Regions from separate parts of the Homo sapiens genome. Here regions 1, 3, 4, 5, 6 and 7 are each linked to region 2. Evidence: promoter capture Hi-C in 16 types of primary human blood cells and fetal thymus (Javierre and others, 2016). All regions are on one chromosome and are shown on one strand. The core of a region is centred on a gene start or on the middle of the fragment in contact, and the rest is flanking DNA. Distances in the headings are between cores, read along the strand shown.

Evidence for each region. The method cuts DNA at HindIII sites, captures the fragments that hold promoters and counts their contacts. A CHiCAGO score of 5 or more calls a contact.
Region 1: a contact is called between a fragment that was not itself captured here and the fragment with the promoter of SNX14 in region 2, in 2 of 17 cell types (non-activated CD4 T cells and naive B cells). The highest score is 11.1, in non-activated CD4 T cells.
Region 3: a fragment that was not itself captured here is called in contact with the fragment with the promoter of SNX14 in region 2 in 3 of 17 cell types (M0 macrophages, non-activated CD4 T cells and monocytes); the score reaches 17.5 in M0 macrophages.
Region 4: a contact is called between a fragment that was not itself captured here and the fragment with the promoter of SNX14 in region 2, in 1 of 17 cell types (monocytes). The highest score is 5.6, in monocytes.
Region 5: a contact is called between a fragment that was not itself captured here and the fragment with the promoter of SNX14 in region 2, in 1 of 17 cell types (total CD8 T cells). The highest score is 5.1, in total CD8 T cells.
Region 6: the fragment with the promoter of RRAGD here is called in contact with the fragment with the promoter of SNX14 in region 2 in 4 of 17 cell types (M0 macrophages, non-activated CD4 T cells, erythroblasts and 1 more); the score reaches 9.6 in M0 macrophages.
Region 7: a contact is called between a fragment that was not itself captured here and the fragment with the promoter of SNX14 in region 2, in 3 of 17 cell types (non-activated CD4 T cells, total B cells and monocytes). The highest score is 8.2, in non-activated CD4 T cells.

Annotation. Positions count from the first base shown.
Region 1 is chr6:89,147,245-89,150,885 of GRCh38, forward strand. PM20D2 (peptidase M20 domain containing 2) reads left to right here. Exons shown (of 7, transcript NM_001010853.3): 2 at 2,021-2,169. Among named protein-coding and RNA genes, the nearest start is that of PM20D2, 3.0 kb to the left of the region's middle. The HindIII fragment of the contact is 560 bases long and covers 1,225-1,784 here.
Region 2 is chr6:85,591,677-85,595,592 of GRCh38, forward strand. SNX14 (sorting nexin 14) reads right to left here and starts at 2,182. Exons shown (of 29, transcript NM_153816.6): 1 at 1,903-2,182. The coding sequence starts at 2,042. RefSeq lists enhancers at 673-1,258, 1,259-1,842, 1,843-2,426, 1,875-2,044, 2,355-2,474 and a silencer at 2,105-2,324. The HindIII fragment of the contact is 2,215 bases long and covers 1,445-3,659 here.
Region 3 is chr6:89,348,297-89,351,852 of GRCh38, forward strand. The region is part of intron 1 of UBE2J1 (ubiquitin conjugating enzyme E2 J1); the gene reads right to left. Among named protein-coding and RNA genes, the nearest start is that of UBE2J1, 2.6 kb to the right of the region's middle. The HindIII fragment of the contact is 1,933 bases long and covers 516-2,448 here.
Region 4 is chr6:81,748,184-81,751,779 of GRCh38, forward strand. It overlaps TENT5A (terminal nucleotidyltransferase 5A), which reads right to left. Exons shown (of 3, transcript NM_017633.3): 2 at 3,407-3,596; 3 at 1-2,288. The coding sequence ends at 1,512. Among named protein-coding and RNA genes, the nearest start is that of TENT5A, 2.7 kb to the right of the region's middle. The HindIII fragment of the contact is 922 bases long and covers 1,361-2,282 here.
Region 5 is chr6:89,433,820-89,437,477 of GRCh38, forward strand. The region is part of intron 1 of ANKRD6 (ankyrin repeat domain 6); the gene reads left to right. LOC124901360 (a long non-coding RNA gene) reads right to left here. Exons shown (of 2, transcript XR_007059675.1): 1 at 1-3,658. Among named protein-coding and RNA genes, the nearest start is that of ANKRD6, 2.5 kb to the left of the region's middle. The HindIII fragment of the contact is 1,170 bases long and covers 719-1,888 here.
Region 6 is chr6:89,410,944-89,414,793 of GRCh38, forward strand. RRAGD (Ras related GTP binding D) reads right to left here and starts at 1,330. Exons shown (of 7, transcript NM_021244.5): 1 at 903-1,330. The coding sequence starts at 1,050. RefSeq lists silencers at 287-386, 417-526, 557-1,746. The HindIII fragment of the contact is 2,415 bases long and covers 1-2,229 here.
Region 7 is chr6:89,363,927-89,367,623 of GRCh38, forward strand. RRAGD (Ras related GTP binding D) reads right to left here. Exons shown (of 7, transcript NM_021244.5): 7 at 690-3,697. Among named protein-coding and RNA genes, the nearest start is that of UBE2J1, 13 kb to the left of the region's middle. The HindIII fragment of the contact is 2,876 bases long and covers 896-3,697 here.

The sequences.
Region 1 (3,641 bases), core at 255-2,754, 3.6 Mb after region 2:
GAAATGTCGTTTATGTTTGTCGTAGGGCAAGTTTAATCCTGTTTTACTCTGCTTTTCCAGATGGTATATTCTACACTATGAGCTAAGATTCAATCGTCATTCAGTTAAGGGGAAAACAAATGTTTTATTTTCATACTCTTTAGTTCATTTCCCCCAGTGTCAGTAACCTTCCTCTTTTATCCTAACACTACATCTTTTGTGGCTTTTTCACTTTAGCTGCCTTCTTTTTTCTGTCTCTGGAGGCTCGTTTTTGCATTTGTTAGGTTTTTGTTTGGGTTGGGGGAAGCATGCTTTGCCATGTCACAAACACTGGAGAGATTTCGCTTCAACCACGTTTTTAAAGGTTCTGAGTAGTCAGCGAGAGACATATCGTATTTAATGAGTTAAGGGTCAAGAATGAAGAGCGGTGGGCAGATCAGTTGAGGTCTGGAGTTCGAGACCCGCCTGGCCAACATGGTGAAACCTCTGTCTCTACTAAAATATATTAAAAAAAAAAAAATTAGCTGGGCGTGGTGGCTCACGCCTGTAATCCCAGCTACTCGGGAGGCTGAGGCAGGAGAATCGCTTGAACCCAGGAGGCAGAGGTTGCAGTGAGCCGACATCGCGCCACTGCACTCCATCCTGGGCAACAGAGCGAGGCCTCCTCTTAAAAAAAAAAAGAGCGGCGGCTTCATGTCAGAGTTTGAGCACTGTAGAACCGCCAAAAAAAAGCTAAACTTTGAGAAATGTACACTCTTTTTTTTTTTTTTTTTTTTTTGAGACAGTCTCATTCTGTCGCCCAGGCCGAGTGCAGTGGTCCTATCTCGGCTCACTACAACCTCCGCCTCCCGGGTTCAGGCGATCCTCGTGCTTCAGCCTCCTGAGCTGGGATTACAGGTGTGTGCCACCACGCCCAGCTAATTTTTGCATTTTTTAGTAGAGACAGGATTTCGCCATGTTGGCCTGGCTGGTATCGAACTCCGGATCTCGGGTGATTCGCCCACCTCGGCCTCCCACAGTGCTAGGATTACAGGCATGAGTCACCGCTCCCGGCCCACTCTTCTAACTTCAAATGGTTGTTCTCAATTTTAGCAAGGTTAAGTTATTAATTATCTGAAAATGGAATTTAAGTTGATTTCCTTTGCAAGCCAAGACTTTTCCAGCTTGTTTCATTGTGTTCTTATACATGATCTTGAAAATATATTAGTTGTTTATTTTGATTTTTAAAATTGTTTGAAGCAGTTAAGCTTAAATATCAAAGTAAAATGTTTATTCTGTAAAGTTCTCTTTTGTTTAATTAGGTGTTTGGTGACCAATAAATCTGCCTGGTTGAACTGGTGGAATCGAATTAGTAAGTTTGTGTAATAGTTGGCTGTTTCTAACTGTGGCATTAAGACTTGTTTAATGTTCTTCATAAAGGATTAATGAGTTCAGACTTTTAAAATAGGTAGCCCAGTAAGGAATCAGAGTTTAGGCCAGAAGATCAGGACATCTAATCCTAATTCTGCCTGAAGACTTGCTCTGTGACCTGGGGCAAGACACTTCACTCAATTCCTCAAAAACACCCCCTGTAAAATGATGATAGAGATCACCCACCTACCTCACAGGGTTGTTGTGAGGATAAGTAGTAAGTTAACAGAAAGTTTCTGACTCGTAAAGTACTTAAGAATAATTATATACATACATACACTGAAAGGCTTAGTCGAGAGGAACCTTTTTGAAACAAATCCTAACAAATTTTGAGGGACTAAACTTGTAGTATTTTTTTTTATCTTTGCCATTAGTTGACTTGTAAAATTGGGAAAAGCTTTTTATAGTGTCTTTAGTACATACTTTGCACCAAGTTGGTATAACAATGTACATTTTGTGATTAATTTAGCACCATTTGTTGATGCCCATTGCGTAAGCGTCATAGAACAAAACCTGTCTTAATAGGTTAAGGACTTTAATGTAGATTGTGAATACATATGCAGGTGAACCTGTTTGATATATTCCTATGAGGATTTTGTTGTTTTTCCCTGACATGAGTATTTCCTTCTAGGTAGTTGTCCTGGGAACCCCTGCAGAAGAAGATGGTGGTGGCAAAATTGATTTAATTGAAGCAGGGGCTTTTACAAATCTTGATGTTGTTTTTATGGCCCACCCATCACAAGAGAATGCTGCTTATCTACCAGATATGGCTGAACATGAGTGAGTAATCAAGTTGAAGATAAACTTCTTAGGGGAACACAGGCTATAGAATACTTTTATGTCTAAACCAGAGACGAAAACTCCACATTTGTATATTTAAGAAGTAAATTGAAAGACAATAACAAGATGTCTTGATCTATGGAGTGACATTTGGCAAGCCTCTTCTAATTGAGATTCATTATGGTGTTCATAATTGGAGTATTAAAATAGTAGCACTTAGAAACCATAGGAATAACAAACATGTTGACAATTAAGTTCTCTTTTGAACTGTCAATAATCTGGTGTCTGGAAAACATCTGTCCTTTCATATGAAATTGTCTTTGCAACTGAATAGATTTGCGAGAGATCGTTCTATTAGCTATGGGAAGAAACCACACTTATCCATTTTATTTACTTTAATTTGAGTTCTTTGCAAAGAGGATAAATTATGTCCTGAGAGAGAATATGGAACATGAGTAGCTATGGTTTTTGTGGAACTTCTCATTCTGTGCTTTTCCGATTTGTCTGGTGCTGAAACCTTTTATTTGTCTTTCTTTATGTTGAAGAACTCACTTTTTAGTACCTAGGAGCACACATCATTGAAGTGGTTTGGATTTTTTATACCAGAAATTTCAACCATAGTAGTAACTATAGTAGTTAATGGTCCAGGCACAAGGAGCCAGTGCTCAGCTGCTTCAGCAAAACCATGTGTTTTCCTCAGAAGTAGCTCGGTACTGAGGGAATGATAGCAGAACCATCACAGCAGTGCTTCTAGATTGTACCCGGGTATCCCACCTCTTAGCACCTTACCAGGCCCTGTTTTCAAAGGGTGATCATTTTAACTATTAGGGTATCTTCCTTCTTATCACTGGAAATTGGTACTGTGGCAGTAGGAGGAATCTTTGAACTTTGGTTTCAAGGGTGGTGGTAAACTAGTCCATCTCTAGAAAACACTGGGGATTAGAAATCTCTGCCCTTGCCTTTGACTAGAAGGGGCCTGCATATGCAGGCAGGCTCTGCAGCTCATTACCCTTCTGGGACTTAAGGTTAGGCTTCGTGGTCTTGGTTCTGAAGTCAGCGCACTTGACCCCAGACCTTCTCCTAGTATCTGCCTTCTTAGCTTTCTCACTGATCATCTCTTTTTTTTTTTTTTTTTTTTTTTTTTGAGGCTGAGTCTCACTCAATTGCTCAGACTGGAGTGCAGTGGCACGATCTTGGCTCACTGCAACCTCCGCATCCCAGGTTCAAGTGATTCTCCTTCCTCAGCCTCCTGAGTAGCTGGGATTACAGGCGTGCGCCACCACGCCCAGCTAATTTTCATATTTTTAGTAGAGACAGGGTTTCACCGTATTGGTCAGGCTGGTCTTGAACTCCTAACCTCAAGTGATTCACCCACCTCGGCCTCCCAAAGTGCTGGGGTTACAGGCATGAGCCATCACACCTGGCCTTCATTGGTCATCTTTTAAGATAGAAAAGAGAGGTCAGGTGCAGTG
Region 2 (3,916 bases), core at 932-3,431:
CAGTTCCCAAAAGAGGTAGGTAAGAATCCATGGACAAAAGTTAATCATATGGGCTGCGTGCAGTCGCTCACGCCTGTAATCCCAGCACTTTGGGAGGCTGAGGTAGGTGGATCACTTGAGATCAGGAGTTCGAGACCAGCCTGGCCAACATGGTGAAACCCCCGTCTCTATTAAAAATGTAAAAAAAGTAGCCGGGCATGGTGGTGCCCACCTGTAGTCCCAGCTATTCTGCAGGCTGAGGCATGAGAATCACTTGAACCTGGAAGGTGGCTGTTGCAGTGAGCCGAGACCGCATCACTGCACTCCAGCCTGGGCAAGAGAGTGAGACTCCGTCTCAAAAATAAAAATAAAAATAAAAATCATATGAAGCTTACATTTCTTTCATACTAAACCTGTTAGTCTAGCTTGGAATACCTTCCAGATGACAGAAAGCAAATAATAATTAGTGTTCCCTCTGTTAAGGATCCCACTTCTCCCACACTCCTACAGTTCAAACATCTCACCATCACAGAGCACACTTCTCAGTAAAACATCAACTACTATTTAAGCTCAATAATATTTAAACCAAGAATCAACAAGAAAGCAAGGCCACTTTTAGGGAAGAAATCTAACTTCAACATAGTCACAAATAATGGTTACACCAGAGAAAAATGAAGTTACCAAATTCCTTGCGCATTCCTCCCTGTTGCTATCCTTGGGAATCAACTACCTTAAGATAAAGAGTAAGAATGGTTGCCTGTTCAAAACATCAGAGAAAACAGCTTGCGGATGCTGTCAATGAGAACTATCTCAGATTTCTTTCCACCAAAAGCAAATCTGGTGTTAATTTTAATGGAAAAGTCTCCTCTACTACCTATTGCATCGCAACAATTTCTTGAAATAGTAAAATGAAGTAAAACAAGTTTATTTCGGGGGCAGAATCTTCTGATTTCAAAATGTCAATTGAATTTATCAATTTTAACCTTTCGGAATATTTCAGGTTTTTTTGGGGAGGGTGGCATCAAGTCCTCTTAAGAATATTATAGGGATGTGGCCGGGTGCGGTGGCTCACGCCTGTAATCCCAGCACTTCGGGAGGCCGAGGCAGGCGGCTCACGAGGTCAGGAGATCGAGACCATCCTGGCTAAAACGGTGAAACCCCGTCTCTACTAAAAAAAAAAAAAAAAAATACAAAAAAATTAGCGTGGTAGCGTGGTGGCGTGGTGGCGGGCGCCTGTAGCCCCAGCTACTCGGGAGGCTGAGGCAGGAGAATGGCGTGAACCCGGGAGGAGGAGCTTGCGGTGAGCCGAGACCGCACCACTGCACTCCAGCCTGGGTGACAGAGCGAGACTCCGTCTCAAAAATAAAAAATTCTAAGGATGTTGGGACGGGTACCACTTTGCTTTCTGATTTCTGTCCAACAAATCTTTATGATCGTCTGTTTTATTCAACAATACTGCGGGAAAAGCTTCAGCTGCAAGCTGAGGGGGTGGGAGGTGGGGAGATGGAAGAACGCGCTGCAGGTGTGCGGATTCTGCCTAAAATTGCGGCTACGAACTGGACCTTGAACACTCCTCCGTCAGCTGACTTGACTGCCTGTGTACAGTCTCAATTTGAGCCGACACACGGATTTCACTTTTGAAAAGCAACGAAGATGAAGAACTCGTTTTGAGAAATGGATGAGAAAAAGGTAGCTCAGGAGACGAAGCCTCGGGAAAGGAGGCAATCAACCCCACCCCACCGGCCTGTGCTTCCGGCCTCGACGCTCCGCCGTGCTCCCCGAGGCCGCTCCTCTGCGGAGCTCGCTCTCCCCACTGGTCCCCAGTCCCGCAGCTACGCGGCCTCCGCACGGTTAAGCAGCACGGGCCGGGCGTCTGCACCTTCGGAGAAAAGCCGCCGCCCAGGCTCCGCGCTGCGGCGTTACCTGTTAAGAAGCAGGGAGGCGGCGCTGAGACAGAGCAGCAGGAAGCAGAACAGCGGGTACTGGCGGCAGATCTCGCGTCCCACGTCCAGTCGCAGCCGCTGCTTCAGCTTCTGCCCCATCGTCCGCACCCAGGGCACCATCTCCGTAACGGCGAGGCCGAGACTGCGCTACTGGCTGAGGCAGAGGTCAAGGCGACCCCCCATCCACACCTCGCGTCCCCGCCCCACCGACTTGGCGGCGCACACAGACGCCTACCGGCAGTTAGCCGCCGCAGGCTGAGGTCGCGTCCGGCTGGGCCCAGCCCCACGCCCCCCGCCGCGCGTGCGCGGCCGCGGTCCCCAGCCGACCAGAGGAACGGCCGTAGAACGTGCCCGAAGTCGTCACCCAGCGCAAAGCCTCTAGCGTCTCGCCGCTCCGCCCTCCTGGCCGGAGTAGCGCGCAGTCTTCCGTGGAAACTCTGACAACACTGGCGACCGGCCATTTCCGGAAATCAAAGGACAGCCCCAGCACCCAGTAACTGCCTGTATTGCGGAGGAGAGGGAAGAAGGTTGTAGGGAGCCCGGAAGAAACTACAGCACCCCCGTAGCCGCCGGGCGCTGCCTGAGGGGCAACCGGAGCTCGTGGAGCCCGCTGGGAACTGTAGTCTTCGTGACACGAACCCGCAGAGGGATGGAGCGGGTGGTAGCGCTTCCCCGACCCCGCAACGCTCCGCGCCTCACCGTACACTCGGCTCCGGGTGGGAGCAGGTCCGAGCTTTGCGTGACGCCTAAGGGAGAGGGGGATAGGAGGACGCCTTTGAGTCGGTATTTTAAAAGGGGTGTGTTGGGGGCTGGGGGGGTGGCGAGTAAAACAGCCCTAGAATAAAGACTACAACTCATCAGGCCGCCACCCCACCAACAAAATCTCTTTTGCGCGCTCACGGGCAAGGGTAGAGCTCAATTCACGCCGGCTCCGGGAGCCCAACCAAAATCCGAGTGCTTGGAAGAGGCAGGTTGGCAGATTAGGTAAAATCCCTCTTATAGAGTCTCATGGGGTTTTCCCTTTACTAATTCATCACATTTCTAAATTTTTTTTTCTGTATTGTCCGCTACAGTGAGAGATGCAGGAAGACTATTATCGCGAAAATTTACTTAGGCGGTACAGACACTAAGCACTTTCATTTGACCTTCATGCATTCACCCCATGGTGTAGGTACAGTACTATAGTTTCAATCATTATACAGGCAAATTACTGAGACAGAAAGGAACTTAGGATCATAAAACTAACAAAGCCGGAATTTGAACACGTTCTAAAGACAGAGCCTGTGCCTGTCATCTCTCTTTCCTAGGATCTTATCCTTCAAAGTGGGGAAACAAATGTTTTTTAATGATGTATGTAGTTTCATGAATATTTTCCCGTATTACAAAAACATGGATCTTTAATGATGCATTATTATCCTTTATCAGAATGTACCATCCTGTTCCATTATTGCTAACCACTAAAGTCCATTGATATTACCATCCTTGATGATAAACCTATGCACATTTCTAATTATTTAGAATCAACTTTAATACAATTACTGGGTCAAAGGGTAAAAACAAACATTCTTGATACAGTCAAACTGCTTTGTAGAATGGTGGTACCAACTCCACAGTGGTGTATAAAAGTAAACAATTTCACTGATCCTCACGATTAGCTATTATTGTCTAAACATCACAAATACACTTTTCTGTTTGTGACTAAACCATTTAAAAGACTACAGTGTAACATCATTGGAAAGCTTACCATTTTTTAATATTTCTAGGTACATATTTAAACATTTATTAATTTCACTTTGGCAGTTTTTAAGTATCTTTATCTGTTAATACTAAAATAGGTGTATGTTGAGTGGATCTACATGTATCAAGTGCCTCCTATGGACTTGAGTGCTTTACACTTTTGTAAATTACCTTTTAAAAAACTAATCTCATGACAAATAATGTAAGTTATTAACCTGCCTGGTAAATTATGTTGCCTTTTGTTTAAAACTTTTGCT
Region 3 (3,556 bases), core at 232-2,731, 3.8 Mb after region 2:
GCTCTAGGTGCTGTGGGCCTAGGCATTAGCATTCTTCACACACCTTGGCTAGCTCACTAGCCTCACATTGGGGTTTGTATACAGCTAAAAATAAAGGGATCTTCTACAGGCCACTGCTTCCCATATATGGATTCCTCTTCAAAAGCAATTATCTTGATATTATCAATTCCCAAAGCATGAGTGAAATGCAGGAGACAGGTATATTAAGGAAGGCATGCTCCCTAACTGCCTCTTCCTGCTCCCATAATGAAGGTACTTAAGCAAATGCCTACAGAGTGATGTTTCTGCCCAGGAGGACCCTGCAAATGTATCAGTTCAACAAACATTTAAAGAATGTCTGAGTGTTGGAGATAAAACAATGACCAAGACCTGCTTCTTGTCTTCCGTAACAGTCAGTAGAGAAAGACATGAAAATAATTACAACCAAGTGGTAATATTGACCAAGTATATATGTACAAGTATATATAGGAACTACTTTAGTCTGCCTAGGGGAGCTAGACAAGGCTGAACCTTAAAGCTTGAAGAACTATAGGAATTTCAGATGGATTTAAAGGAAGGCATTCTAAGCAGAGGTTCCAACAGGAACCAAAGCACCTAAGTGAGAAAAGCTACTCCAGCTAGAGAGTCATTCAGGCAAAATGGATAGGTAAAAACGCAGGCCTGGTGCAGTGGCTCTCACCTGTAATCTCACCACTTTGGGAAGCCAAGGTGGAGGGAACACTTGAGCTCAGGCGTTTGAGACCAGCCTGGGCAACATGGTGAAACCCTCGTCTCTACAAAAAATACACAAATTAGCTGGGTGTGGTGGCACACACCTGTGGTCCCTGCTACTCGGGAGGCAGAGGTGGAAGAATCACTTCAGCCCAGGAGGTTGAGGCTGTAGTGAGCTGTGATGGCACCACTGCACTCCAGGCTGGGAGACCCTGCCTCAAAAAAAAAGAAAATGAGGAAGAGCATAAGAGTGGTGGACAGTGAGGCTGGTGAGGAAGGGCAGGGTCAATCATGAGCAGCCCTGTAGGCCAAGCTAAGCAGTTTACTTTGAACTTTATTGACAGCTATCAGAAAGCTACTGAAAATTTTTCAATTTGGGGGTAATCAGTTTTTGTTTTGATTGATCTGGTGACAACAGTGACTGATTAGATATATGTGTTTCTGTGTGTGTATTGAGTTGTGTGTTTCAGGGCAGGGATGGAGCAAGGAAGCGACCAAGAAATAAAAAATGACTCCCATAGGTGCCTGAGTGCTGTCTATCCCTGAGATATGAAATACTAGGGTAAACTGCAAGTTTAGGGGAGGAGAAGAAAACTGATGAGTTTTGTCTTTATACTTACAGAGATTTTTTTCACTCTATGGGAAATGAAGATGTTGAGTCACCATAAGTTCTGTGTATCTATAGCTTACGAGAAGGGCCTGAGTTGGACATGAAACCTTGAGTGGATTAGTGGGAAGGTGCAGTTGACACCAATGGCATGGATAGGTAACTCTTAGACTTCTGGTGGAGGCAGTGGGTACTTTTGCACCAGTCTCTTATACTCCCACCACCTGCTGCACATGTCAATGGCCCCCTGATGAAGAAGCTGCCAAAGGAGGTGCTTTATACACATTTCTTCACTTTGTACTATAAGACCCTACTTCCTTGGCCAGAGCAGACCCAAACACGGGTCAAGTAGCTTGATCCATAGACAACTATTGACAGATTATAGACAAGTAGCATGATCCATAGACAACTACTGCTACTACAGTAGCAGATCCATAGACAACTACTGACAACTACCACAGACAACTACTGTGAGGTGATCCTACACAACAGCTCTATCCATAATCACAAGTCCATTCCAAAAAAAAACCATAAAGCAAAAAGTTTCCCCACCTATGAAATGAAAAAATTTACTATATCCACATGCTAGTACACTGGCCCTTAACCAGCTATCTGTATTGTCTTCACTTAATCTTTCCACTCATACATCAAAGACAATCCCACATCAGATAAAGAGTAAAAGATTATATCCCTCACATTGTGTGGTTGTTTTTTGTTTGTCTGGTATGTTGGTATTTTACGTGTGTGTGTGTGTGCACCCTGCCATACACAGGAAATTGGAGTTTTCAGTTGCTCCCCTTCACACAGGCATTACTCTAAAAATACCACAGGACTGAGAATAAAGCAAAGGAAGGAAGTATTTTCACAATGCCTCCCAGCATTTTCAGTAAGTCCCATATCTTACCTAATTCAACTTCTCCATGAACTCCAAATAATTCACACACTAACAAAAATAGATTTTTAAGAAGCATTGTGTTTTTTTTTTTAGAGCAGCAACACTATCTTTGAGGAAATGAAACCAGAAAAAGGAAGCAATTTATGACACAGCTAGAAGCATGTCAACCAAAGCTCAACCAGCTGACAATAGTTCACATACTTTGGAAATATACAAAATTCTGGAGATTTTTAAAAGCTTATCATCATAGTATTAAGTCTAACCTATCGAAATTGAGCGATGTTTTCTGACAACAATCTCTTGGGTTCCACCAGTTCTCCATTCTAAACTGCACTACTACTCACATGTGCATTATCCTCTGGACCTTTCACTAAGCACCTCTGCTGTCCTAAGGAACCGTGTGACCAGGGAGCCACCATACATTTTTACCCAAACAGCTCCAGTTAAATATACCACAATGTAAATAATTCAATCATTTTACCATCTAGCTTAAAAATTAAGCTTTTCTTTCCCTCTTTCTCTTTGGTCTTTTCTTCCTCCCTCCCCACCCCGGGATTCTCTTTTTTTTTTTTTTTTTTTTTTTTTTTTTTGAGATGGAGTCTCGCTCTGTCGCCCACACTGGAGTGCAGTGGCGCGATCTCGGCTCACTGCAACCTCCTCCCCGGGTCAAGCCATCCTCCTGCCTCAGCCTCCCGAGTGGCTGGAACTACAGGAGTGCGCCACCACCATGCCCGGCTGATTTTTGTGTTTTTAGTAGAGACGGGGTTTCACCATGTTGGCCAGGCTGCTCTCCACCTCCTGGGCTCAAGCCTCCCAAAGTGCTGGGATTACAAGCGTGTGCCACCGTGCCAGGTCTTCATCAGATTTTTTTAAGGAGTCAGTGGCTCCTAAAATATTATGACCAGTTCTACACACTTGGTCACCTAAGGACATTTCTTAGCCTGACAGCACTCAGGCTAACAAAGCTCCCTCCAATCAATATCCTCAGGCTTTTCTGGGGTTTTTGCATATTCTGAAACCTTACAAAAAACCCAAAGATTCACAGTGTCAACTCTTTCCACAAGGATGCTAGTCTTGCTAATTCCTACTGAGAAACAGCTTTTTTTGGAAGGAAATTTTAAGCAACAGCAAAAGTTGGTGAAATCATCACTAATATCCTAGAGTTTATCATGCAGAGTTAACTGTGGAGTTTCTTCCCCCTGACAAAATGTATCAAGGTACAGATAGAAAAAATACCATTTAGAGGATCCAATGATTCATTTCAAGCCTGTTTTATTAAGCTGAGAAAGCTAGTTGCTTATCTTTATAATGCACCAGAAAGTAATTAGAGGCTAGGATTGCTG
Region 4 (3,596 bases), core at 572-3,071, 3.8 Mb before region 2:
AGATCACCGGAAATCCTTTTTAGCAGTCAGGGATTTAAGTAGCCTATTACTGATCCATGATCCACTAGATTAAACATCATAGAGGAATGCAATTTTTTTTTTAATAAATGGGTTCCAACTGTCAAAATGGCAGTTCAATATAAAAAAGAGTGCTCTGCCAAACAAATATTCTCCCATTTGTGGAATTTTATGGCTCACCAAAGAAAAAAAAAAAAAGAAAAAAAAATCCCACTAAAACAGTATAATTTCTGCTCTTCCTATGAAATATATTACTTGGTTCCCTCCTTCATTTAATTTTTTTAGATGTGGATTTAATTCATCATTGCAATATGCCCACGTCTCATGTTATCCTGTTGAAAACATAAAAACACACAGTATTTAAACATTTCCTATTTGAGACATTATTCTAGATCATAGTCAATCTACTGTGTATATATACATATAAAATGTATATATAAAATGTATATATACACACACACATATAATTTATACACACATACACATGTACCTATGATAATATCAGATCAACAAATGTTAACTTTATACAAGTATTTGCAAGAAAAAATAGGGCATTTTCTCCACCATTCACAAGCTTATGTTATTTTCTTCTTGAGGCAGTCCCTGATAAAATAAAATAATCATTAAACCATAAAATAATTTTGCCACTTCAAATTTTCAGAAGGCAACAGGCACTTTGATGTATATTGGTGTGTAACAAATATAATCTCTCTTCATATAGTCTACTATATCTCTTCTAATTGGGTATTTTTATCTGTTAAATCTTTGGTCCTTGAGCACACTTTCTTTGTTACAGCTGTTTTTGCTTGCATTTTTACATTTTAAAAATGTGATCTATGCACGCAGCTGGAATTAATGGATTGTGTCATCATAAGTTCTGCTGATTGTTACGAGAACTGCACCAACCTACTACTGTTCATTTGGAGCAAGCCGTTTGTTAGCAAAACAAGATCATTCCACAGAAAGCACTTGCTACAAGCCTCAGACAGTAATCCCAACGTTGGAGTTCCCCTTTTTCCTGTATTGTTACTATTAATATCTGAACTCCTAAACTGATTCACAAGTTGGAGTGAGACCTTTTTTCCTCCGTATTTTCCCTTTTATGAATTCCATCTTAAAAGAAACTTTCCACTTTTTTTTTTCCTATGGCAAAGCTATGGGAGCAGATACAGCAAACCCATATTGTCATCACACATTTCTTCTCTTGTATCAGGAGAACCTGGTTGCTTCTAATGACAGGTCTCTCTTTTTTTGCAGGATAGAATCCAATTGGGTAGGAGAATAAGAGAAGGGAAAAGGATCCTTTCGAGATCATGCTCCCACATCTATTAAAAGATACATAAGCTTTGCCAAACTTAAAACCAGGAGCATATCATCATTGCACAAAACACATCCCTAATAAGGGCTGGATCACTCTTTTTTTTTTCTTTTTTTTTTTTTTCTCTCCTGTCTTGTCTGAAATGGCTTCCCCACAGGACATTTTTAAATGATTCTTAATTGCAGGGTAGCCAAGTGGAGTAGGTCTGTTGCTGGCACGTGAATACTGGCTGAACCTGTGCAATGTAGTAATTGCTAAAGTTGGCATCTGCTACATAGGGGGCTGGCTGGTAATAGCAAGTGACATTAGCCACATTAGGAATGACATTTTGGTCAGCTAACACCCGGATAGCCAGCATGGTGATAAGGTTTAAAGTCTGTCTTCTTTCATGTCCCATCAGGCACACTGTGCTCTCATTTACCACTCCATGAAGGGTCATGAGATACTCATACTTGCGGTCTTCCAATCCCACAAAGTGGTTCTGCAAATAGGACTCCAGTTTTCTCTGCTGCTCTCCAATGTCTGAGAAGTCGATGAAAAACCTGGAACACATATACCTTTGAAGGGTCTTGATTTCATCAGAGGCGGGCCTAAAGCCCCTCACCAAGAGGTTGCAGTACTTAAGCAGGCCTCCCCCTCGGATTTCCTCTGGGTTCCTGGTGGCAATGATCTTGTTACAAAGGTGATCAAAGGCTTCCTGGAAATCGCCATAGACGCTCTCCCCGATTATTGTGGGGTGAAATGTCTCAGTCATTGGGTTCTCTGAACATTCATAAAAGAGCAGAAGAGAGTCTAATTTGATTTGAAAAGAATCTACACTGAATTCAAACTGCCTCCGGAGGGAATCCACAAATTTCAGTTCCACATTTTTGCCACTGTTGTTTGACAGGGATATAAGACTCCATCGGTCAGAGTCATTGCACACTTTAACCATTTTCTGCACATAAGCTTCCTACAATTTAAAAGATAAAACAAAATGAGCAAACCTAGAAAATAATAAATCAATAAATAAATACATCCTCTTCACAGCTGAGAATTATTTTGCTCTTTCCCTTTTGTTTTGTCAAGTTTCAGCCAAACACTACCTACAGGCTTAAACGGTCTTCTGAAAATAGAAAAAAAATACTTTTAACGAGTAGTTTTACTGTCTGGGAAAGGGACTAGAGGTAATAGTTTGAGGCTTTTGGCAGACGTAGCACAGTAGTAAGAGGTTTTGTTGTCATGTCTGACTTTTTAAGTGTTACTTTTTGAAAACGGTCTAATAGGCACAATATTCACACAGTATCCAAACAACATTCAAAAGACTCGGAAGGGCATTCAGCGGTAGGTTAGTCAGCCTCTCGCCCTTGTTCCAAGCCACCCAATTCCTCTCCGCCTGCGGCAATCAATGTTATCAGTATCTTGTGTGTCCCTCCAGGGGCACCCTGCAGTTACAATCAAATATAAACTAAATTATGACATTCCAGGAGCCTGCCTCCTCAGACAATTTTAACTAATCATATAAAACCCGTCTTGAACTAAAGTGGAGGGTGGGGAGGGGGTGCCACTATACCCTTAACATATGAACCAGCACGAAGAACCACCAGATAGACCTTTAACACGTAGTCAGCTGAATGCCGCTGTGAAATCTATTCACCTTTTCCAGTACAATAAAAAACTCATTGACTCACTTCTGCTTCAGGCTGTTATTTTCCCAAAGGCTAGACTCAAATATAATGACTCAAAAATTATTTACATCATTTCATTCTGCCAAGTATCAGAATCTACTCTGGACAAGACTCCAACAGGGAAAGCCAAGAGTTAAAACATAAGGAGAAAGAAGAGAAGAGAGGGCAGAGGAGGACCTGGGAGAAGAGTTGTAGCGCCAAAGCATCAAGTAAACTGAAACACTCAACACCGTCCACGCACGTCAGTTTACTGGTTTAAAAAATCAAAAATCAAAGAAATAACGCGCGCCCAAACTCGTGATGGCCACAGATTCATGGCATTTAACCGATGCCCCTCTGCCCGCTCCCCGTCACACCCGGCCCAGACTGGGTCAGGACCCAAGTGCATCTCGGGTGGTGTTACCTTGAGCGTGAGTGGTGTGATCTTCTCTTTGTTCACCCCCTCGGGTAAGAAGTCCAACAGGCAGTCCAGCACGACGTCCTTCACAGTCTGAAACTCCCCTTCCCCGCGCAGGTCGGCGCAGAAGATGAGGTCCAGGTCCTTGTAGCCCAGGCCGCTGTCCTGGTGCAGGACATGGCTGGCTGCCGAGCCG
Region 5 (3,658 bases), core at 54-2,553, 3.8 Mb after region 2:
ACTAGGGTGCAGTCGCAGGAGAGGGGCCGATACCCCTCAGGAGCCCCATCGGCGAAGCCTCAGCAAGTGGCATCTCCCGGGGTCCAGAGAGTCGGCGTGCTGTCTGGTTTGGGTCCAGACATCAGCTCACCCAAGCTTATCTTGGGCTTTTAAGTGTGTTGCTTCCGGTAGATCTCGGGGACTGGAGGGGAAGTGCAGCATTATTTGTGACCCAAGAGGGACTTGAATGTCTCAAAGCTGGTCAAGAATGTTTCCCCCGCGAGGTAGCATGAGATGGGTCACGTGGTAGTAAAGAGCCACTTCGGGCCCGTGAGATGGAGTTCTGACTCCACCACTTGTTAGGTGTGTGACTTTGGAAAACCCACTTCTTTAAACCTTAGTTTTTAGAACTCTAAACTGCAGGTATTGTACATAACCTCGTAGTATTGTGTTCATGCAGTGAAGTGATGGGAATGAAATGCTTGGCATTGTACTCTTGTGTGTTAGACACCTTTTGCGAACCTGTTGGATGTTGAATTCATTCATGCTTAGGTTCTGTTAGGCCAGTGTAAGTGGAAAGAACTTGGGCAATGAAGACAAACACACCTGGGTCCAAGGTGGTCCCATCCATGGTATACTGATTGGGGGTTTCTCATCCCCAAAACACCAATAGCAGCCTTGGCGGGGTTTTTGTTGTTGTTGTTTTGAGACAGAGTTTCGCTCTGTTGCCCAGGCTGTAAGCTTTGACCTCCTTAGCTCAACCGATCTTCCCACCTCAGCCTGGGACCACCACACCTGGCTAATTTTGAATTTTTTTATTTTACTAGAGACAGAGTCTCACTGTGTTGCCTAAGCTGGTCTCGAACTCCTCCTGTCTCAGCCTCCCAAAGTGTTGGGATTACAGGTGTGAGCCACTGTACTGGTCTGCAGCCTTGTTCTTGAGTGTAGTAGGTGTGTCTATACCGATACATGTTACACTTTGTCATCTTTAGTATTTGTTTAGCATATGGTAACAAAAAATTTTTTAAAAATTAGGGATACAAATTAAAATTGGGGAGTATTTTCTGCCCTCTAGGTCATACTGGACATGGGGGAAGGGTAGAAGAGGGATGAAGAGGAATTAAAGAGACCAGAAAACAACTAGTCGCAGTGTTGGGAGGTATAAACCAATGGTAATTTTTAAAAATGTGAATTTATTAACTCCTTGTTTTTTCATGGTGGCACCAAAAATTAATCTTAGTCTCCCACTTAAACTCATCAGCCTCCCCAAAGCCTTTCCAGATAAGCATATGCTCCATGTAAAAGCAGACTGCCTGCGATCCAACTCAGCTTAGAGACAAGGCACACTTCCAACTCCCAAGGCCTCCTTCTTGTATAGAGATGCTGGTGCTGCCACTGTGAAATACATCATACACTCAGACAGTATAAACCTTAGAGTGCAATGTAAAGAATAACAATAGATCACACCCAAGTACGAGTCACCCGGCTGAAGAACTAGAACATCGCCAGGCCCCTGGAGCCCCTGAGTACCCCTCTCCATTGCCTTCCACTCACTTCTCGCCTCCCACCCAAGGAACCACTATTCTGGATGTTGTGTTAACTTTTTCCCTTGCTTATATGAAAAACCCTGAGGAAAGGAAGTTTCCCAACAAGCATTTCCACAATAACCTGGAGCATTCTTTATTTTTCTTTTTTTCTCAAGGAGCATTGTTATTGAACTTAAAAGCAGGCTATTGAGGGTAAGATACAAACCACAAAAAAGCCGAAAGTCTCAAAGTCGGGGGATCTTTTAGTCTCTGTCTTCTTCCAAGTTTCTCCTGTCTCCCTGGCACGGATCCCGAAGGTGTGTTCTGTCTGTGTAGGGGAGACCCAGTCTCTTCCAACATAGATTGATGGCTGTGATTTTAAAAGCTTTGCTTGAGTCCCTAAGAAGTGGGAAAACAGTAATTTGGGTGCGTGCGTTTTAGAAGTTTTTTTAAAAATGCAAATTATCCAGAAGGCATTGTGTGGGATTTGAAGGATTAAGCTAAGAGTGACCTTTAAAAATGGTTTTAACAACCCAAATTCCTCTTCCTGGTTGATATGTTTGTGTTATTGTCTTTGTTTTATTTCTTCAAGGTCACATGGCTTTCCTTGGTGAATCTTACACTGTTTTGTTACTTCTTGGTTAAGGCAAAGATTCTGAAACTTGGTTTCATGGAGCCCTTAGTGTCTGAGTTAATTTTTTCACAATTCCCTTAGGCTTCAGTAGTTAGTAATTTTTTCACAATTCCCTTAGGTTTCAGTAGTTAGTAGTTAGGTTCAAACAACTGAGTATTTACTTAGAAGTTGTTTGAAAAAATAATATACATAAACTGAGAGAAAAAATATTTTACATCCTTTAAAGTCATAATTACTAACCGTATGTGTGTGCCTATACTACTTTTCAAACCTTGGGATCGTGTTGGACACTGCCACTCTCATTTCCTGTTTCACATTAATATTTCCGCAGCATTTGGCTTTTATCACAGCAGCCACAGAAAACCCAGCTTTGCAAAGATGTATTGTCTTGGATAGGAATGTAACATGATCTACTGTTGAAACTGCAAACTACCTCCAGTTAATAGGTTCAGCAGTGTCCAGACATGTTTGGTATACTAGTTTCCATTGAAATTTTCAGATTTTCTACATTGCCCATTTTAATTTGCTATAGTTGCAAAACACCCAGTCAGGGGGTCCAAAATAGTAAACTTTGAAAACATTATGCTAGGTGAAATAAGTTAGTCACAGAAGGGACAATATTGTATGATTCTGTTTATATTAGGTACCTAGAGTAGTCATACACATGGAGACAGAAAGTAGAATGGTAGTTACCAGGGGTAGGGGGAGGACAGAATAGGGAATTCATGTACTATTTTTGCAACTTCTATGTAAGACTAATATTATTTCAAAATAAAGTTTTTAAACGTTTTTTAAAAACAAATTCTGTTGATGGTGCCCCACTGCTGGACTGTACCAAGGCACTGAGGTTAGGGACAGCAGCAGAGAAAAGCTTAGGGGTGACATTATCTCTATTTCCCAGCTCTTCCTCATCCCGTCAAGGGGGAAGAGATGGAAGAAATAGCTATGTTCTCTCTCTTTTATAGGGAAGTGTCTGCATTATTTACTGGTGGGTTCCTTTATAAACCTGAGGATCAGCTATTAAATTTGTCACTAAAATAAGAATTTTTAACCTGGGGTTCAGTGGTGGGCTACAAATACTCTAAGATCTCCCAAAATTATGTATAAGTATTTAAGTGAATGCTCTTATGTATGTTTGAGGGGGAAGAAGTTCCATAGCTTTCATCAGATTCTCAAATGGTTTCCTAAGTCAAAAAAGGTTAGTAAGCGCTATAAGGAAATATTTACAGATTCCTACCTACCCCCACCCCATAAAAGGCCCCTTTATTTGGATGTCTTATCCCATTTCAGTTCTCTGACATATCTTTCCCCCACCAGTTACAAGAGGCTTTCTTTCTGCTCAGACCCCAGATAAGCCCGACCAGTTCTTTTTCCTCAGAGCCCCCAGCTATTCATCTGGATCCTGAAAACTCCAGGACCAATTCCTCAAGAGCCAAAGGAAGTCCCAGAATGAACATCTTGGACTTCTGAATAGGGCAGATGTGGAACTGAAGTCTCACAACTGCCACATCTCTCTGTG
Region 6 (3,850 bases), core at 80-2,579, 3.8 Mb after region 2:
ATTGACCTTTCCAAGTGACCTTACAGTAAAGGAACTTTTGCTCGCTTCTGAGGGAAACTAAAAAAAGTTTAACCTCTCTGGAATACTAAAAGGCTCTCAACTTCCTTACACCTTAAGAAAATGCAGGAAGCCCCCACAAGCTGAACGATTGCTAAAACCCGCTTCTAGAACAGGAAAAAGAGTTTGCTTCACTATTGAAGCAAAGAATTCCCCGCCGCGCGCTCACTCCCGGGCAGGCACTGCCATGTCCAGGTGGTGATACCGAGAGCAGATAAGGTGTCCTGACAACGGTGTTTGCGTGGATCCCGGGAAATCTGCGGCCTCTCGGAGACTCCCACAACAGCTTGGCGAGCATCCCCCCGCCGCCCCGCGGGTCTCCCCAGCCACTACCTGGGTGGGCCCCTCCCGCGGCGACGCGGGGCGAGACTGACACCCGCAGCTGCCGACGACCCTGCCAGTCACGCCGCCGCCGGCTGCCTTTTTTTAGCCACGACATCTGACCCTGGCTTCAACAGCACCGTTCTGGGAGAGAGGTCCCAGGGCGCGCCCGCGGTCCCCTCCCCTCCCCAACCGCCAGACGCTGCGGAGAGCTTGGGGTGAGGGGCGCGGGAGGCACCGGCTCTGAAAGGGGCAGAAGCGCGCGCTCCTCCAGCCCAGACGCTTACTCCCTCCTTCCCCTTTTCCACCGATCCTGGTTGCCCCTCCGCCACCAGCACCGCGCTCCCTCATTTGGCAGCTCGAGGTCGGGCTTTTGGCGTCCCTCCCCACCCCAAACCCTCAACTGGACCCGCTCCCCTGGACCCCCTCCAAGTCGGTGGCTCGCGCACGGCCGGGCTGGGGGCGGGAAGGCGCCAAGGGGAGGAAAGGGGCGCGAGCCGAGGACGCGGGGGCCGGGCGCTCACCTCCCTCCTCTGTGCCGCTGTCCGGATCGGCGTCGGAGGAGTCGGGCCCGTCTCCGTAGTCCGCTAGCCCCACCAGCTCATCCTCCTCCTCCTCCTCCTCCGCGTCGTCCTCGTCCTGCGGCTGCGGCTTCCCCAGCACCTGGCTCATCGTGCCCACCGGCCGGCCGGCCCGGGGACGGCGGGGGTCCCGGGGTGGGGGCCAAGCCTCCTAGCCGGCCGCCCGCAGCCTATTTCTGAAGCGGAGGTTTGTCTAGAGCTCAGCGGGGCCCGGCGGAAGCGGGGGCCGCGCGTCCCCCGGCGGGCGGCGCCCAGGTCCGGGTCCCGCGGTTCCCAGCGCGCCCGAAGCCCCCTCCCCCGCCCCGCCCGCCGGCGGAGGAGTCAGCCGGAGCGCGGCAGTTCCTCCCGGAGGAGGGAGAGAGAGAGAGACTGCGTGACCCGAGTCACCTGACACACACTGTCACATACTCACATACACACCCCGCACGGGCGCGCGCGCGCTCGCCCGGCCGCGGGCACCACTCGGCGGGGCGCTGGGCCGAGGACACACATGCACACGCACACGCACACGCACGAGGAGACCGGGGAGGCGCGGGGCCCCTGCACCCTCCCAGACTCACACCGACACACGCCCCGTACACGGGGCCCCCGGGACGCCGGCCGTCACCCACCGCGGCTGCGCGCCAGGGGCCCCCACGCGCCTCTCCTTCACGTGGTCCCCGCACAGGCAGGGGAGGGGGCGCCGCACACCCTCAATGTCCCCCCCGCCGTCCCACTCCCACACGCCCGCAGAGCGTCTACCGTGGGCGGATGCCTCCTGCTTACAGTCCTGAGCTAGGGTCCCAAGCGGGTGGCCTCCCAACACTGTGGCGCCCAGATCCCCCACCCCAGAGCAGCGTGCCCAGGACACCCTGTGGACGCTCAAGAGCCCCAGGCGGAGAACTCAGATAAATGCACAGTGGAGGCGCAGTCTCCATAGCAATTGTCTTTTAGTGTGCCTTTATGGTTCAAAGTGCTTCCCACCAAGAATATTTAAAAAGCAGGCCTACCCAGACGTAAATGTTTCTGAAGAAATCACATGACTCGTGGCTGCTTAGACTAAATAATTCCTCTGCAGCCCTTTGGAAAAGGTCTCAGTGTATAACACACTCGGGGGCTATTCATGGCCACCTCCTCATGTCTCATTGTTGCATAGACTGTAATCCCACATGAATAAAATATTTCAAGGCTTTTGTGGGAGTAGGGGAGTGGCGGTGGTGGGGGGGCAATTCTCAAATAGGAATAGCAGCAACGTGGAGTGAGACTCTAAAACCTGCATTCCTCCTTCACAAGCTTTTCACCACGGAACACACTGTACCCACCCTTTCTGGGTACTGCAAAAAATTACGTGGATGAACTTCCTTCTGTGGAGCACAATAAGAAAAAACCGGCCGGTCAGCATGATGATCCAGCTCCTACAGGTGCCAGCAGCTCAGCCGGTGGTGCGGTGCAGAAGCGGAGGGAGGAAGCTAGGGCAGGAGACTCTCAGGGCCCAAGGGTGCTAACCTCCATAGGAAACATTTATTAACCACCTCCTATATGCCTGAGGCTGGGCTAAGTAGAGGGTCCAAGAATGCTCAGGGCAGTGTTCCTGCCCTGAAGGAGCTCACAGTCTACCAAATCATGACTCATGTCCTGGATTTTTTTTAGTATTTCTGAGTGCAGAAGGTGGATGCAGACACTTTCCAGAAGGTGGCTGCTTCTAATGGGAAAGGTCCTGAGATTTTCCAAGGGAGGCAGGCAGTATAATTTGGTATGACTGTATCAGTTAAGGTTCTTCCCAGGATGAAACAGACGGTATGTGCAAAGACTTTAACTGAAGCCTTCAAGTGAAGGAACAATTTACAGGGGTGTGGACAGAGTTTAGGGAATCAATGCAGGTATTAGCGATAGTGGGAAGATAACACCACCCCTAAATTTACAGGAGTGAGGAAGGGAGCTAGAGTCCTGGAGAGGGGCCACAAAACAGGAGCTGTAACTGATGAGGAAGCTGCTGCTGCCAGAACGGCCTCACATCAAGGAGAGAGCAAAGACCTCTCTTTCTCTCCATCCATCCTCCCTCCACTCTCCTGTGTCTCCCATTGGCCAAACCCATCTGGTAGCCAGAAGGCAAGGGAGCCTGGAACCTAGTCCAGGACAGAGATTGGATAGGGAGGGCAGGGAGTGGGTCCCTGGGTGGGGTGAGGTGCAAGGAGCATCACCAACACAAGCAGGCACTACATACTCCCATCAGAGGCAAGTTACTTATGCCCTTCTAAACCCGATTGCTTATCAATAGAACATCACTCCTTCTAAGGATTATTAGGAAGATTAAATGAGGCGGAAAAAAAATCTCAGGTACTTACAAAGCTCATTTCCTAGGAGTAATTTTCCTAGCCTATTTTCATCCCTTCCGTCAAAGGAAACCCCAGGGAGGAGGGCCTCCCAGAGTGTGGCTGAGGACTTTCAGCTATTCTATAGCTAGCCCACCATCCTCAAGTGGCCTTTGAACTGGTCTGATTCAAACTGCAAATAACAATTTAGGAGATCTAGAAGACTGTCCAAGGTCAACCCAGACTCAGACGTATAGGGCATTCCTGGGCAGGTTGCCAAGTGTGTAAGACCCATGGACTCAAGGGATCAGGAAAGGGCAGGTCATAATCCAACAGCCCCACTGTGCCTATGGACTAGAAAGGACAGAAATGTCTGATGATCCTCTAACTTCCCCAGGAAGAGAGATCTTAGAAGGAAACAATAGATTGGGGCACACTCCAAGATACTTGAGAATTGGACCATTCTTTTGTTTTTTTCTTTTAACATGGAGTCTCACTCTATCACCCAGGATGGAGTGTAGTGACATGATCTCAGCTCACTGCAACCCCTACCCCCCAGGTTCAAGCGATTCTCTTGCCTCAGCCCCTGAGTAGCTGGGA
Region 7 (3,697 bases), core at 1,084-3,583, 3.8 Mb after region 2:
TCCTCAAATGGCATGGCACACCCCATAGTCTTAGTCCACCAGACAAATCCTCTAAGTGCCCCTCTTCATATTTGTGAAAGGAAGGTATTTTTTTTAAAACATTTGGTGAAGCTGCTTATAGTTGTAGTTGGGAAAGTGGGCTTACTAGCTATATGATCTTGAGCAAGTTATTATTTCATCTTTTTGACCTTGGTTGCCTCATCTGAAAAATAGAAATGGTAACAGTACTTACCTCTTGGATTTATGAATTTTAGTTATGCAAAAGTACTTCAGAGCAGTGCCTGCGGCATATTGTGTGTACTCAATCAGTATCTGTTATTACTAAATACTTCTGTTGAAGACAAAATTTTCTTTCTCTTAAGCTCAACATCACTACTGATGGAAAATCTTGGAAATAATTATTTCAGATCAGGTTTTCCAACCAGGAACAGGATTTCATATTTGAGATATAACATCTAATGCTAGCCCCTCTCTGAGAACTCCTAGGGGATCTGAAAAAGGTCATTGTAGGATGGAATCTTACTAAGCAAAGTTAAGAATGATAAGGTAAACTGTTAGGAAAAGGATTTCCATATGACTAGGGGATTAGGGCCACAGCAGCAAGAGTTAATATCTGAAGTTTACTGAAGTAACAGTTCTACAGCCCTAACTGGCATGTACCCATCAAAAATGTGGAGATGTAAGAGAGTTTAAAAATAAAAGCATAAATTAAATTTAAGTAGTGAGATTTATCATCATTTCCATAAAATGAGAGCTGGTTAATCAGGACAAATAAATTTTACCAAATGGATGTAACAGGGCCAATGAAACAGTGACATACATGTATGGTAAGCAACCTCAGAAACAGGAAAGGCTGTACTTCCTTTTCACCAAAGAGACAATTCTGCTCCCAGAAAGCTTAGCTATGAATACACTTGAAATGAGAGCTTTACCAAAGCATGAACCTAGGACACATGCTTTTAAATTGGCAGTTAACATTCTTGAAAGCAATGGCTTAACAATGGTTATTAAGTGATGTACTGCTTAAAGTAAAACATGGACTATACCTGATTACAAATTACATCCAGTCTGTACAAGTTGAATACATACCATACTTTAATAACCAAGACAATTCAGCTGTTTTTCCAGAGTATATTTCAAACAGAGTTGGCATATAACCCGTATGTAACAATATTGCTGTGATTTTAGTCATATTTAAGGGTCCAAAATATGTTCACAAAAGAACAGTTTGTGAATGTCAACCAGTTTTTGCTTTATATTCCTTCAAAAACATTCCACCCTGGTCATTCACACTAATCTACATCACTGAAAATAACCAAAATAATTCACAGTCTCACCTCTATGTAAAAATTCTAATTGACTCAACAGGGAAAGGACTGCCCTGCTCCTTTTGAGGAAGGAAACCTGCAAGGCAAGTTCTCAATCCCTAAAACCAAGCAAAAATGTTCCAGTGCAGTTGCTGTAGCCATGTATTTAGGATTTGTATTTATAGAATTAAATTTGAGAATGAAACATGGCCATACACATCGCAATAAGCTGCCTCTCATATCAAAAATACAATGCAAAATGACTTGAAGACATTTCCAATAACACAGATTTGAAAAACTGAACGCTTAGACATAACTCCTGCATCTTTCTTTAATTAAGAAGTCATTGCCACACTTACAAAGTTAGAGGCAGTAATCTATATTAGCGTGTGATTAATCAAAGAGTACACTTACTACCATGAACTTGGGCCCTATGTCATAGAATTATTTTTGCCTTTCCCCCAAAGAATCATTTGCTCTTGAAGTAATAGGCTTTTTAAGGCACATTTTAACAAAAACCCATCATATACCCAGCTTAAACATGGAAGCTCCAACCTGGTTATAGTAATAAATATACCTAAGTAATGTGTGATTTACCAAATAGGCTAGTGTCTCTAGCTTGAGGATAAAGTCATATTAGAAAACTGATTCTTCATTTGCTTATTCAAAGTGAAACAACATGTAAAAAATATTAGAGAATTAGATTTATAACAATAACCCCTAAGTGTCAGGTCTGTTGGCAAAGGTCCAACAGGATATAGCTCTGGAAATCAGGGAGCCCTGGGCTCCTAACCATCCAGGTTTCGGAGTAGGAATCATGAGGAAAGGAGTTAGGGCACCTTAATTATTTTTAGAAATCTCCTTTCAAAATGCACAGAACCTTGGGAGGCTCAAACCTTAAACACCAACCAGATATCATCTTAAATTCAGTTACCAGCTTCAAAGAAACAGGACTTGGGGAGAGGAAGGAGAGAGGTTGGAAAGAAGCCACAGAGAGAAGTGGGAAAGTTTAGGCTGGGCACAGTAGCTCAGGCCTGTAATCTCAGCATTTGAGGAGGCCAAGGCAGGAGGATTGCTTGGGGCCAGGAGTTTGAGACCATCTTGGGCAACACAGTGAGATCCTGTCTCTACAAAAACAAAATTTAAGAATTAGCCGGGCGTGGTTGTGCACACCTGTAGTTCTAGCTACTAGGGAGGCTGAGGTGGAAGGATCCCTTGAGCCCAAGAGGTAACAGTGAGCTATGATTGTACCAATGTATTCCAGCACAAGCAACAGAATGAGGCCCCCCTCTAAAAAAAAAAAAAAAAAAAGTTTCAAGTATAAGTTGCTTTAGGGACTTTATATATTTTGCTAGGACCAACTTTGATGTTCTTAGGAGGCTCTGCTTTAAAAAAAAAAAAATCTCATTTTCTAATGCCCCACAAGCATGCCTTAGGGTGCTAACCCTTGAGATGCACGTAAAATTATCTACTTGGAATGATTTGGCATAGGGGTAGATTTAGGACTCTTAATTTCCTGTTAGTCTAAAGTAAACATAAGTGAAATAATTTCACAGAAACAATTACACAGCTAATTGTAATGTCTCTCCAGCCATCCTTTTCCCACTGACCTTTAGGGGTCTTCAGGATGACTCTTCAGCCTTGCAGAGCATGCTGGTGGCAGGCTGAGCTTGGCTTAATCATAAGGTGGGAACAAGTGGAGTACATGAGGCATGTTATCACCAGTGAGAAGGAGATGTGGAGGTGACAAAAGTGACTAACAGGATTGAGCTCCATGGTGGGGTTCTGCGATTTGTTCTATTCACTATGGTCATGGAGCAATAAAGAACTGGTCCTGAATAAGCATTTTAAATGCAGCACACCAGACCATCGCACAGGGCCAAAAGTCCAGAATTGTATCTATGTTTTTTAGTCTGCAGTTGCCAATCACATACTTTTGGAACAACTTTAGGCCTCTGATGTTACTTTAGCCCTGGGTGGTAGGTACAGAAAAGCCTCCAGAAACCCTACAATTCAGTGACATTCTTACTTCTCTCCAGTGTTCGGCACCATTTTGGAAATCTGGTCCCAAAGTTTCAAAAGAATACTAATGCAACAAAAAGAAATAACCTCTCTGTATAAAGTGATTATAGAGATGTGTGTTGAGGTAAACAGCTTCATAAAAACCGTTGAGCAGGGAAGCACAGCCACTGCTATAGAAATTTTTAGGTAAGTCTGGTGCTAGCATTATTCTACAAAACTGTTTACACCCATTATAAATAGGGGACAGTTCTTATTGCTCCTGGAGCTTGTAGCTCCAATCTGTTCCAGCTCCACTGAAAAATGATTTTTCTCAACAATTGGTAGCAAAGATTTCCAAATTTACAAAAAGTCATTACCAATGCATCACT